2 separate regions of the Homo sapiens genome follow, and region 1 is linked to region 2. The links are contacts of gene promoters, found by promoter capture Hi-C in blood cells and fetal thymus (Javierre and others, 2016). All regions are on one chromosome and are shown on one strand. The core of a region is centred on a gene start or on the middle of the fragment in contact, and the rest is flanking DNA. Distances in the headings are between cores, read along the strand shown. Region 1 overlaps EFCAB13 (EF-hand calcium binding domain 13). Region 2 holds the start of KPNB1 (karyopherin subunit beta 1).

The links. The method cuts DNA at HindIII sites, captures the fragments that hold promoters and counts their contacts. A CHiCAGO score of 5 or more calls a contact.
Region 1: a fragment that was not itself captured here is called in contact with the fragment with the promoter of KPNB1 in region 2 in 4 of 17 cell types (erythroblasts, naive B cells, megakaryocytes and 1 more); the score reaches 9.9 in erythroblasts.

What each region holds. Positions count from the first base shown.
Region 1 is chr17:47,326,825-47,333,368 of GRCh38, forward strand. EFCAB13 (EF-hand calcium binding domain 13) reads left to right here. Exons shown (of 25, transcript NM_152347.5): 4 at 1,445-1,559. The coding sequence starts at 1,530. Among named protein-coding and RNA genes, the nearest start is that of EFCAB13, 6.1 kb to the left of the region's middle. The HindIII fragment of the contact is 3,718 bases long and covers 2,886-6,544 here.
Region 2 is chr17:47,645,653-47,652,665 of GRCh38, forward strand. It overlaps KPNB1 (karyopherin subunit beta 1), which reads left to right and starts at 4,267. Exons shown (of 22, transcript NM_002265.6): 1 at 4,267-4,632; 2 at 4,734-4,792. The coding sequence starts at 4,593. KPNB1-DT (KPNB1 divergent transcript) reads right to left here and starts at 3,776. Exons shown (of 4, transcript NR_171700.1): 1 at 3,744-3,776. RefSeq lists an enhancer at 2,422-3,267 and silencers at 3,668-3,937, 3,948-3,997, 4,008-4,187, 4,618-4,687, 4,798-4,937 and 1 more. The HindIII fragment of the contact is 6,441 bases long and covers 1-5,981 here.

The DNA.
Region 1 (6,544 bases), core at 3,495-5,994, 320 kb before region 2:
ATTTTGAATTCCAGGAATGTTGGACATATCACATTGAAAAATAATGACTATAAACATATGTCAGAAATAAATAAAAATGATTTTAAGTACTCTGTCTTCATTAGAATATTAATACTTGCAGTTAAACTTTACAAGAAAAAGACTGATGATTATAACTAGCAATGTAATATAATGTAATATAGCTAGCACTGTGATAAATAGCTCATAAAATGTAACTCAGATGTGAGTTGAAAATATGAAAATTTGAGGAATTTCTAAGTGTTGGTTATCACATTTGCATAATGTGAAAGTCTTGAGTTTGAAGTGAGGCTACACCATCTTTTCTTTCTTTATTTTGTTTTGTTTTCTTTTGTTTTGTTTTTTTTGATACAGAGTCTTGCACCCAGGTTGGAGTGCAGTGGCGTGGTCTTGGCCCACTGCAACCTCTGCCTCCTGGGTTCAAGCAGTTCTTTGCCTCAGCCTCCTGAGTAGCTGGGATTATAGGTGCGTGCCACCACACTCGGCTAATTTTTGTATTTTCAGTAGAGACGGGGTTTCATCATCTTGGCCAGGCTGGTCTTGAACTCCTGACCTCGTGATCCACCTGCCTTGGCCTCTCAAAGTGCTGGGATTACAGATGTGAGTCACCATACCTGGCCTTTTTTTTTATTTTTGAGACAGTCTCACTGTATATCCCAGGCTGGAGTGCAGTGGTGCGATCTTGGCTCACTGCAATCTCCGCCTCCCAGATTCAAGCGATTCTGCCTCAGCCTCCTGAGTATCTGGGATTATAGGCGCATGCCACCACGTCCAACTAATTGATTTGTATTTTTAGTAGATACGGGGTTTCACCATATTGACCAGGATGGTCTCAATCTCTTGACCTCATGATCCGCCCACCTCGGCCTCCCATAGTGCTGGGATTACAGACGTGAACCACTGCGCCCGGCCTACACCATCTTTTGTTTGCAGTAGCATTGTTTTGAAAGGCAATGTTCTATGGGACTGAAGACCACAGGCTTGGAGTTAAATTGTCTGAATTCAAATTCTGTCTCTACTATTTGCTGGCTGTGTGATCTTGGGAAACTTGACCTCTTCAAGTCTTTATCATGATATTTAGCACACAGTAAGCATTCAGTAACATGAGTGATTACTACTGTCTTAGCAGTTCTGCTTCTCAGGGTTTATTTAAATAAACAGATGTAATTGGATTTCTCAGCTTTGTATGCCATTTGAAACTGGATTTCTCAAACCACAAAAGGTAAAGTTAAGGAATTGGATGATCTGTGATTTATAGTCTACTAACTGCTTTTTCTAGTGTTTGCCCACATATCTGTGTTGGTGAAATGTTGTGTATCATACCCCAAGTCAGTGTTACATTGAAGAGATAACTTCAGGTAGGTAAATATAATTGCTTAAGTGTTCTAAACAAGCGTATGATTTCTTCTTTCTCTTTTTTTGGCAGGAAATCCTTTTGTACTATTGCTCATTCATACTTGTTCATCAAAGCCTGGAGTCCTTAAGGACAGAATTTACCTCTAAACAGAAAGATGGAAACTAAAGTACATTTATTCTGCCAGGTATTTATTTAAAACAGTTTCTAAAGATTTCTTCTTTCTTCTTTTTAAAATTAGTTTACATTACCTCATATTCATAATCAGTAAGCAAATTCATAGAGTAATAGTTATAAGGAACCTGGCCAAGTAACTGAGATGATGTTTGAGTCATTTTAGTGAACATGTATTGAACTCCCATCCCTACAACCCATATAATACTGAGAGATCTTCTGTGGTGTATGATGAGAGTATTTTGGTGGGGTACGGACCTGGATAATTTTTGTGGAGATCAAAAGGGTTAAACTTACATGAGAGGTTGTAGATAATGTAATTAATGATGTGAGAGTATAACCAAAAAATAATGTAGAGGACATCAAATTTCTTTAGCCCTCTTATCTGTACTTCAGAGTTTTATGCCCTTCTGTCTTTTTAGATGCCTCCACCTTTTTTTGCTAGTATTGTGTCAAATAAGACAAGTTTTTTCAAATAAAAACAAATCTGGACTTAGTAAGCAGAGACTTTATTCAAAATAATTATTGCAAGAGAAAAAAGGGACTATTGAAATTGGAAGAGGAGGAGGACTATTGCAATGGAAAGAATGCTGTGACCGTAAGATCTGTAGGTGTCTCAAGGGTTGGGCAGAAGTTTTCTTTTATAGAGAGACGCTGGAAAGAACCAGGTATGGGGAAATTGGATGAAATAGTAGAATGATTAGATAAGTAGATTGGAGAGTATTTTATCATGAAGTCAGTCTATTATATTCTGATTATCAGTGGGGATAAAACAGCTAATAATTTATGACGCAAAGAAAGGGAATTTTGAGGGGGTGTGTCTGGCATTGTCATAAGTAAACAAGGGGGGCATTCCAGAGTCTTACCTAAGTCATATGGGGAGGAGTGGTTTGCAGTAAGCCATTTTCCAGAACACAAAAGGGTGGGGGGATTCCTTTAACCCTCACTGTTTTCTGGGAGTTTAGGGCTCAAGTGAAATTCAGCATTGTCAATTGAGAGTCCTAATCTTTTAAATTTATCCTTGTTAAAGATCTGACGCTACTGTGTAAAACATGTACCTATACTATAGTCTGAAAAATAATCTCAGAGACTCTTGAAAAGTGCTGAGATATGTACTTTATATCATATATATACACATATATACATTTAAAATTTACCTTTTTATACCTACTACTTTGTTGATTTTGCCCTTATAAACTGATTTTGAAGATGAATTCTTAAAAATTAATATTAAAGTATCATACCGGTTTGTTTTCCTTAGACTGTATAATTTATACTTCACAGATGGCTCACCTTTTACTACAATGTTTCTGAGATTGTTTTCTTCTTCTGTGTCAAAAGCTTCTACTCTTTGTTTTCATTCACTTGGCCTTTGGTAACAGGTTTTTCTGTCTTTTTAGATTTCCTACCCCTTTTCCCCCTCAGCTTTCTATTTTGGGTCATTTTTTTCAATCTCTTTAGGAATCCTTTCATCATTTGTAATACACATCTCATCAAGGCAGCAAATCAAATTGCCTTTTTGAAACAACTTAAAGGTATGCCTTTGTTATAAGACAAATGATGCAGATTCTAAAAGTCACTGAAATAGTTCTGTTAATTTCCATCCTGTGGAAACAGAGATTCTCTCTAAACTTCCTTGGTAATCTTTATAAATTGTCTGTGTAATCTTCATGGTCACCTTTGGGTTCAAAGACTCAGGACTAATGCACCTTTGATCGACTGGATGCCGCCAGTTGTCTTAAGCAAACAGCCAGATTTCAGGAGAGAATATTTCCAACTGCATTCTTCTATTTCTAAACGTTTATTGTCACTAAACTCTATTTCTTTTTGGGGGGGTGGGGAGTGGTGTCTATTTAGAAGCAATATAGCTTCTTTTTTTTTAAATATAGGCTTTGTTTTTTGTTATTTTATTTTTTGTAGAGAAAGATATTTATTTATTTAATATTTTTTATTTCAGTAGCTTCAGGGGTACAAGTGGTTTTTGGTTACATGGCTGAATTATACAGTGGTGAAGTCTGGGCTTTTAGTGTACCTGTTACCTGAATAGTATACATTGTACCCAACAGGTAGTTTTTCATCCTTCACTTCCCTGTCCCCTCTCCACTTCTGAATCTCTACCACTCCATATGCCTTTTTGGATCCATAGCTTAGCTCCCATTTATAAATGAGAATATGTGGTATTTGGTTTTTTTGTTCCTGAGTTACTTCACTTAGGATAATGGCCTCCAGTTTCATCCAAGTTGCTGCAAAAGACATTATTTTGTTCTTTTTTATGGGTGAGTAGTATTCCGTAGTATATATACCACATTTTCTTTAACCTCTCATCAGTTGATGGGTACTTAGGTTGGTTCCATACCTTTGGTATTGTGAATTGTGCTGAGATAAACATATATGTGTAGGTTTTTTTTTTGATACAACAACTTTTTTTTCCCTTTGGGTAGATACCCAGTAGTGGGTTTGCTGGATTGAACGATAGATCTACCTTTATTTCTTTGAGAAATCTCCATACTGTTTTCTGTGGAAATTATACTAATTTACATCATCCCATCTGCACCAACATTTATTGTTTTTTGACTTTTTAATAATGGCCATTCTGGCTGGGGTAAGGTGATATCTTATTGTGGTTTTAATTTGTATTTCCCTGGTGATTGGTGATGTTGAGCATTTTTCATGTATTTGTTGACCATTTGTATATCTTCTTTTGAGAAATATCTGTTCATGTTATTTTCCCACTTTTTAATGGGAGTACTTGTTTTTTTGCTGCTGATTTGTTTGAATTCCTTGTAAATTCTGGATATTAGTCCTTTGTTGGATGTATAGTTTGCAAATATTTTCTCTCATTCTGTTGGTTGTCTGTTTACTGTGTTGATTATTATTTTTGCTGTGTAAGAGCTTCTGAATTTAATTAGGTCTCATTTATTTATTTTTGTTTTTGTTACATTTGCTCTTGGGGTCATAGTCATAAATTCTTTGCCTAAGCCAGTGTCCAGAAGAGTTTTTCCTAGGTAGTCTTCTAGAATTTTTATGGTTTCAGGTCTTAAATATGTAGACTTTTTTTTAGAGCAGTTTTAGGTTCATAAAAAAAATGAGCAGAAAATAGAGAGTTACCATATACCTACTGCCCCTATACATGCACAGCTTACCCTGCTATCAACATCCTGTACCAGAGTGGTACATTTGTTGTAATTGGTGAACCAACATTGGCACATCATTATCACTCAAAGTCCATAGTTTACATTAGAGTTCACTTTTGTTGTACATTCTATGGGTTTGAACAAATGTATTATGACATATAGTCAACATTATAGTATCATACAGAATAATCACATTGCCCTAAAATCTTCTGTGCTCTAGCTATTTACTTCTCCTTCCCCCATCCCCTGGCAAACACTGATTTTTTACTGTCTCCATAGTTTTGCCTTTTCCAGAATGTCATATAGTTGGAATTATACAATATGGAACCATTCAGGTCGGGCTTTTTTCACTTAATGTGCATTTAAAGTTTTTAAATGTATTTTCAAGGCTTGATAGCTCACTTCTTTTTAGCACTAAATAATATCCCATTCTCTACATTTAGCACAGTTTATTTATTAATTACTGAAGGACATCTTGATTGCTTTCAAGTTTTGGCAATTATGAGTACAGCTGCTATAAACATCCAATTGTAGGTTTTTATGTGGAAATAAAGTTTCAACTTGTTAGAGTAAATACTAACAAGTGCAATAGTTGGATTGTATGGTAAAAGTATGTTTAGTTTTGTAAGAAACTGCCAAACTGTATTCCAAAGTGGTTGTACCATTTTGCATTCCCATCAGCAATGATGAGAGTTCTTGCTTCACATCCTTGCCAGCATTTGTTGTTGTCAGTGTTTTGGGTTATTGCCATTCTTTTTTCTTAATTGAGTTTTTTATTATTATTTTAGATTGACAAATAATAATTGTGTGTATTTTGGGGGCATAATGTAGTATTTTGATCTATGTATACATTATAGAAATATTTAATCTAGCTATTAGCATAATCATTACCAACTTTTTTTGTGGTAAGAACATAAAAAAATTTTAGTGATTTTGAAGTATATATTATTTACTAACCATGTTCACCAATGCATTAGATCACTAAAACTTGTTCCTCCAGTCTAACTGAAACTCTGTGCCCTTTGATCAATGTCTTCCCATTCCCCATCCCTCTTCCTCCCCCAAACCTCTCCACCCCCCAGCCTCTGATAACCATCTTTCTACTCCCTGTTTCTATGAGAACAACATTTTTAGATTTCACATGTAAGTGAGATCATACAGTGTTTGTCTTTCTGTGCCTGGCTTATTTTACTTAGCATAGTGTCTTCCAGTTCTATCCATGTTATCGTGAATGACAGTTTCCTTCTTTTTAAAGGCTGTATGGTATTCATTTGTATATATTCACCACATTTTCTTTATGTATTCATCTGTTGATGGACACTTAGGTTACTTTTATATCTTGGCTATTGTGAATAATGCTGAAATGAATATGGGAGTGCAGATATCTCTTCAACATATTAATTTCAATTCCTTTGGATATATACCCAGAAGTGGGATTGCTGGATCACACGGTAATTCTGTTTTTAGTTTTTGAGGAACCTCCATACTGTTTTCTGGAATGGCTGTACTAACATTCATACCAACAGTGTGCAGATGTTCCCTTTTCTCCACATCCTTGCCAACACTTGTTATCCTTTGTCTTTTTGATAATAGCTGTTCTAACAGAATAGCTAACAGAATATCTAACAGAATAGTGTGAGATGATATCTCATTGCAATTTTATTTTGCATTTCCCTAATAATTAGTGATATTGAGCATTTTTTCACAAACCTATAGGCCATTCGTATGTCTTCTTTTGAGAATGTCTGTTCAGATCCTTCACACATTTTTTGATTGGATAGTTTGTTTTCTTGCTTGAGTTGAGTTCCTTATGTAATTTGGGTATAAATCCTTTATCGCCTTAACAGATGTAAGGTTTGCAAAT
Region 2 (7,013 bases), core at 3,017-5,516:
CTCAAGTGATCCTCCAGCCTTGGCCTCCCAAAGTGCTGTGATTATAGGCATGAGCCACTGCACTCAGCCCATTCACCATGTCTTAACTCACTTAGGACCTCCCTATTTGTCCCTACATAGTAAGGACAATTAATAGTCTCATTTTACATTGAGGAAAGTTAACTCACAAACTAAGAAGTGGTAGAGCTGGGATAGGAACTCAGGCACCCAATTTCTGGAGTCTGTGCTCATCACTCAAGCTCCGGTACCTCACCAGCATTTATTGAATGTGAGTACTTTTGATAAGAACTAAACAGCACCATCAGTAACTTTAGTTCAACTAAAGTCAGTTCATTTTGATTTTGGTAAGGATTTTATGTTTGATTGGAACTTTGCTGTAAAACTTTTATTTTCCCAGCATTTTACTTCAGCCACAGGGTCTAGCTGTCACCCAGGCTGGAGTGCAGGATCATAGGTCACTGCAGCCTTAAACTCCTGGCCTCAAGTAATCCTCCTGCCTCACCCTCCTGAAGTACATGCCACCATGCCCGGCTTTTTCAAAATTGTATGGGTTGGGCGTGGTGGCTCACGCCTGTAATCCCAGCACTTTGGGAGGCCGAGGTGGGCGGATAACTTGTGGTCAGGAGTTTGAAACCAGCCTGGCCAACATGGTGAAACCCCATCTGAAATATAAAAAAAATTAGCTGGGCGTGGTGGTGGGTACCTGTAATCCCAGCTACTTGGGAAAACAAGGGATTGAGAACAAGGGATTGAGTCGAGCTAGTGCTGAGCGGAGGCAAGATCATACAAGACCTTGCCTGCCATGCAAGTGGTTTTGTCTATATCCTAAGAGCAAAGGAGAATTGCTTGAACCCGGGAGGCGGAGGTTGCAGTGAGCTGAGATGGCACCACCGCCCTCCAGCCCGGGTGAAAGCGAGACTCTGTATCAAAAAAAGAAAGAAAGAAAGAAAGAAAATTGTATAGAGACAGGGTTTTGCTCTTATTTCAGTTGCTTTAAAAATCCATTTGCCCTCACTGGTATCATCATGACTGATGTTGAGACAGAGGTAGCCCAGCAAACTGCTGGAGAGCAGGGGAAAGTTAGCTTGAGTGAAACAAATTATGGATAATTTGTAGTGTAGGTAACTCAGGTAAGGACAATTCCAGGATTTTCACAGATGTCATCTCACTTAATCTTCATTGACTTTTTAGCGGCGGTGGGGGGACACAGTCTCACTGTCGCCCAGGCTGGAGTGCAGTGGCGCAATCTCGGCTCACTGCAACCTCTGACTTCTGGGTTCAAGTGATTCTCCTGCCTCAGCCTCCCAAGTAGCTAGGATTACAGGCTCCCACCACCACACCCGGCTAATTTTTGTATTTTTAGTACAGACAGGGTTTCACCATGTTGGTCAGGCTGGCCTCAAACTCCTGGGCTCAAGAGATCCTCCAGCCTCAGCCTCCCAAAGTACTGCAATGACAGGCGTGAGCCACCACGCATGGCCAATCTTCATTGATTTCTTTTTTTTTGAAATGGAGTCTTGCTCTGGCACCCAGGCTGAATGCAGTGTTGTTTTGTTTTGTTTTGTTTTGAGATGGAGTCTTGCTGTCATCCAGGCTGGAGTACAGTGGGTTTTTTTTGAGATGGAGTCTTGCTCTGTCACCCAGGCTGGAGTGCGGTGGTGCAATCTTAGCTCACTACCACCTCTGCCTCACGGGTTCAGGCAATTCTCCTGCCTCAGCCTACTGAGTAGCTGGGATTGATTGCAGGTGCCCACCACCACGCCCGGCTAATTTTGTATTTCAGTAGAGACAGGGTTTCACTGTGTTGGCCAAGCTGGTCTCTAACTCCGGACCTCAGTTGATCTGCCCACCTCAGCCTCCCAAAGTGCTGGGATTAAAGGCGTGACCCACCACGCCCTGGCCCAATCTTCACTGATTTATAACAAAGTTACACACACAGGGCAGTTCTTCCACAGTTAATAGATGAAGCAAAAGGCTGGGGTTAGCTGCTAAGCCATGGGAAATCCACTAGTCACAGTATGGTGTGAGGAATGGTGTCCCTACATTTCTAGCTTCAAAACTGCAAAGATATCTCTAGCAGAGAAAGACCATTTCTTCCTCTTTTAACAAAGAGTTGGCCAATCTTTCCTAATTCTTTGTGAAACCTTTCAACAAAGTCAGACTTCCTCCTAGGTTTTCCCAGTGTGGCTACTGCAGGGCAATTACCTCACAAGCTCAAGTCATATGGTAAAAAGCTCTATGAACCAGCTACATCCAATTACCCCTACATCATTACTGTGAAAATGAAACAATTCAAGAAATTCTTTGTTACCATTTATTTTTTCTTTTTTTGAGAGTCTTAACTGTCGCCCAGGCTGAAGTGCAGTGGTGAAGTCTTGGCTCACTGCAACCTCTGCCTCCCGGGTTCAAGAGATTCTGTCTCAGCCTCCTGAGGAGCTGAGATTATAGGCGTGCGCCACCACGCTCGGCTAGGTTTTTTTTTTTTTTTTGTATTTTTAGTAGAGACAGGGTTTCACCATGTTGGCCAGACTGGTCTTGAACTCCTGACCTCAAGTGATCCGCCCGCCTCGGCCTCCCAAAGTGCTGGGATTACAGGCATGAGCCACCGCGCCCGGCCCTATTATTACACTTTTCCTTTATCATTTTAAAAATCTTCATTTTTTTTAAAAGAGACAGGATCTCGCTAAGTTGTCCAGGTTAGTCTTGAACCCCTGGGCTCAAGCGATCCTCCCAAAGTCCTGGGATTGCAGGCCTGAGCCACATACTGTATGCACATTTTTTTTCTTTTCTTTGAGATGGAGTCTCGCTCTGTCGCCAGGCTGGACTGCAGTGGCGCGATATCGGCTCACTGCAACCTCTGCGTCCAGGGTTCAAGCGATTCTCCTGCCTCAGCCTCAGGAATAGCTTGGACTTCAGGTACGCGCCACCACACCGGGCTAATTTTTTATATTTTAGTAGAGACGGGGTTTCACCATGTTGGCCAGGATGGTCTCGATCTCTTGACTCGTCATCCGCCCCCCTCGGCCTCCCAAAGTGCTGGGATTACAGGCGCGAGCCACAGCGCCCGGCCCACGTTTTCTTTATATGCATTTTGCTAAGAAAAGGCATTCATGAGTTTCTTCCGGGGTTGAGAACTGAAACAGGTTAAGAACCACAATCCTTTATTCCTGTACACACATTCTTTCTGGTTCGAGGTTGGGCCTTTACAGGGTACTTTTGGAGGGTGAAACATTTCCATCCTGTCAAGTACCTGGTAGCTATGGATGGGGGGTCTAAGAGGAGGAATCCCTTAGCTCACCCCTAAGCAAGTCAGATTTATCACAGCACAGGTCTCAAGCCCCATATAAGCAGGCTTAGGGGACTCCTTGGAGAGGAAGCTGCTTGTAGGGACAAGGGCCGTCAGGAGAGCTTGAGCTTATCAAGCCACTAACCAGCTGTGTGACCTTGGACAAGTTCCAGACCCTCTCTGGGCTCCTGAACCCATTCCTTACCAAGCCATTAACCAGCTGTGTGACCTTGGACAAGTTCCATACCCTCTCTGGGCTTCAGTTTCCACATCTACACATTGGCAGTGGAGCCACATGGCCTTACGGATCCCTCCCAGCCGAAAGCAGGGTACCAAGCCGACCTAGCCATTAAAGCAGCTTCCTGTGGGCGCGGCGCAGGACTTCAACAGTCCCCCCTCCCCCGCTCAGGCCCGCGAAAACCTCGCGCAACACGCCCCTCGGAGCGACGGCGCTTACCCAACCGCAGCCCCAGCGCTCGAACCCAGCTCCGCCTCTTCCCGGGGGCGTCCCATCGTGCCCCGCGCCGGGCTCCTAGGGTTGCCGGGCACCTCCCGCCTTCCCGCGCCCCGACCCCGAACTCCTCTCCTTAGTTCTCCCGGGCACCCTATCCTATCAACGCCTACTATCCCAGCCAATCGCGCAGGATCCGAGTCGTGCCTCCGGTCCACCCTCCTCCCAGCGCTCAGCCGGTCTGAGCTCAAGGCCTTTACCAAGCCCACCCAATCAACGGCGGGCTCTCTCCTACCCCATCCCAATCTCCCTCCCCTCGGCCAATCCGCGCGCTCCATTCCGCTGCCCGCCCAGCCAACCCGGGCCTTGAAACCAGCAGGCGAATGGGCGCGAGACGGCCCTTCGACGCTGAGCGCCTGGCCAGTTAGGGATTCCGCGTGGCCAGGACAACGGCCAATCGTCGTGGAGCGCGGCGCCTCCGCGGAGAGGTCCGGTCCGAATATCCCTCCGCCTTCCTCCCTCCCTCGCTCCCTCCCTGCGCGCCGCCTCTCACTCACAGCCTCCCTTCCTTCTTTCTCCCTCCGCCTCCCGAGCACCAGCGCGCTCTGAGCTGCCCCCAGGGTCCCTCCCCCGCCGCCAGCAGCCCATTTGGAGGGAGGAAGTAAGGGAAGAGGAGAGGAAGGGGAGCCGGACCGACTACCCAGACAGAGCCGGTGAATGGGTTTGTGGTGACCCCCGCCCCCCACCCCACCCTCCCTTCCCACCCGACCCCCAACCCCCATCCCCAGTTCGAGCCGCCGCCCGAAAGGCCGGGCCGTCGTCTTAGGAGGAGTCGCCGCCGCCGCCACCTCCGCCATGGAGCTGATCACCATTCTCGAGAAGACCGTGTCTCCCGGTAGGACGCAGGAGCCGGGGGTAGGGCTGAGGTGATTGGGGTGGGGGAGGGGAGGCCCGGCCCCTCTGACCCCGCTCCGTCTCCCACTTTCCTCCCCCTAGATCGGCTGGAGCTGGAAGCGGCGCAGAAGTTCCTGGAGCGTGCGGCCGTGGAGAACCTGGTGCGTGCTACCCCGCCGCGCCCATCCCGCCGCGTCCCCATCCCCTGCGTGCGGGGCCTTCCCGCCCTCCCGGAGGCCCAGGCCTCGGGAACCTACCCCGCCCCATCCCGTCCCCCTCCCCCCTCCCCCTCCCCCCCCAACCCGGTCCAACCTAACCCCGCCATCGGGAAGCCGGTGGGTGTGTCCCGCCCCGGGCCTCGCGACTGGCCAATGGCTTGGCGCGCCGAGCTGCCTGCCGCCCAATCGTTGCGCGGCCTGAGGGCGGCGGTGCAGCGGGAGGGAGAAAGAGGGAGGGAAGGGAAGTTAGGTTGCGCGGCGCTGCGTGTTCAGCAGGGGTGGGGGCGGGGGAGTCGGGCCTAGGGGCCATGTGGAAGCTCCGGGCCCGGCCGCCCGCCCTGTCTGACCCCGGCCGGCTTCTCCTTCCTATCCCGTGGCCCCTGTGGCTCTCCCCACCTATTTCCTAGAGCTCTGCCCTTTCCTAGCTACCTTGGTCTGTACTCATGGCCAGGCCTGGCACCCGACTGCCTCTTAACCCATTTCCACTGATATTTTTCCCTCTTTGCTCGGTTATTCCTCTCTTGGGGTTTTTTCTTTTTCTTTCTTTCTTTTTTTTTTTTCTTCTGACCTGGATGAATAGAGACCTAATCACTAGGGATCTGCACCCAGAAAACAGACTGAGGCTCATCTTTGAGATGGGGCCTGTTTGCTGATGAAATCACAGGGGAAAGTTCCTCGTTTTTCATATTTTAAAATTTAAGGGGTCCGGAGAAAATGAAGCTAAGTCCGCTAGAGACTGGTCCTTTGTATAAAAATGTGGGATGGATTGGTTGAAACAGCCTAGATGCCAGTTAAGTTTCTCTTTGGTGTCCATCTCCTGTTGGGGGATGGGGTCAGAGGGAAGGATTGGATGATGCTTGACATCTTTGAGAAAGGTAATAGGAATTAAGTCTGAGTAACACTAACCATATGTGTTCCTTTGTGTTATATAGGCAAAATGTCAACATCAACAAAGTGACAAGGCTTATTTTATACAGACTGCCTTTGAATGATTTTTTTGTTGTTTTTCATATGTGCCAATTTTTACAACTAACCTGTTTATCCTTTCCTAGAAGAGATTTTTCCACTAGTATAGGCTGATAATTCCATTTAGGGTATTATTCCTGTTTCTGCTTTTGCAAATTTTGCAAAAAGCTTTTTATCTTATTCCTAACATTCTTAACATTCTTTAGTGGTACATAATTAATAAAACTTTTAAGAATTATCTTCTGCTGTGATTGCAGAGCTTGTTAGCAGTAAGAAAAATGTGTCTGCTTTTGACTTTTCCTGCTAACTTTGCTGTTTGGGCACGGTTTTTGGTGGAGAGGTGTGTGTGTGCTAAATTTTTAAACAAAGGGAGTAGTTTTTGAGGCCTGTGGATTACAAAAGGTTACAAAAGAACATGCTTTTCAGGGATCCACTGTATTCCTCAACTAAAGTCCAAATGTAAAGGAGCAAGTAATTGTTGATCATTAGATACAAAGTTATTTTGCTTGAACAGCTTGCCTGAAGATTTTTTCTTTCACTTTTTCCCTATTTCTAAATATCTTATCACTTTTCCTTATAAATCTGCTTTTTTCATTGTTCCCTTTTTGCTGAGTGCCCACAAATAAAACGGAGGATGAGGCTCCTAAGTTTGTTTTAGGCTTATCTGTATTTCCCCCTCTCATAAAAGATCACCTCCTTCCATGGATTGAAAAGCTACCCTGCTGCTGCCATGAGATGGAAAGTTGGATCATTCTTTTGGGACCAAGGTTTTTGAAATTTAGATAAACAGTTTTATTTTCTACCCCCCATCATAACAGCCATTCATTTAACAAACATTGAGTACCAGACATTATTAAAAGTTCTTGGGACACCTCAGTATACATAGAAGACTGACTACTACTACCATACTCTGAAACCTTGCAATTCGGGGGTCTAACATGACAATTTGGGCACTAAGAATGATCTTGATAGGGAAATCTGTAATTCCTCATTAAGTGCTAGGCTCCACGAGAAAAGTGGAAGACTTCCTGTTACACTAAGTAACATTTTTATAGAAGTCAGTGAAGTAAATATTTTGTGGTTTCCTGAAATGCTTATATCAAAAAAAAATTAGACATTAGTTCCCCCCCTCGCCGCCCCTCTGGTGGTTCAGTGCTCTATAAATTATCCTCAGTTGTGGAAATTCCTAAGATATTTT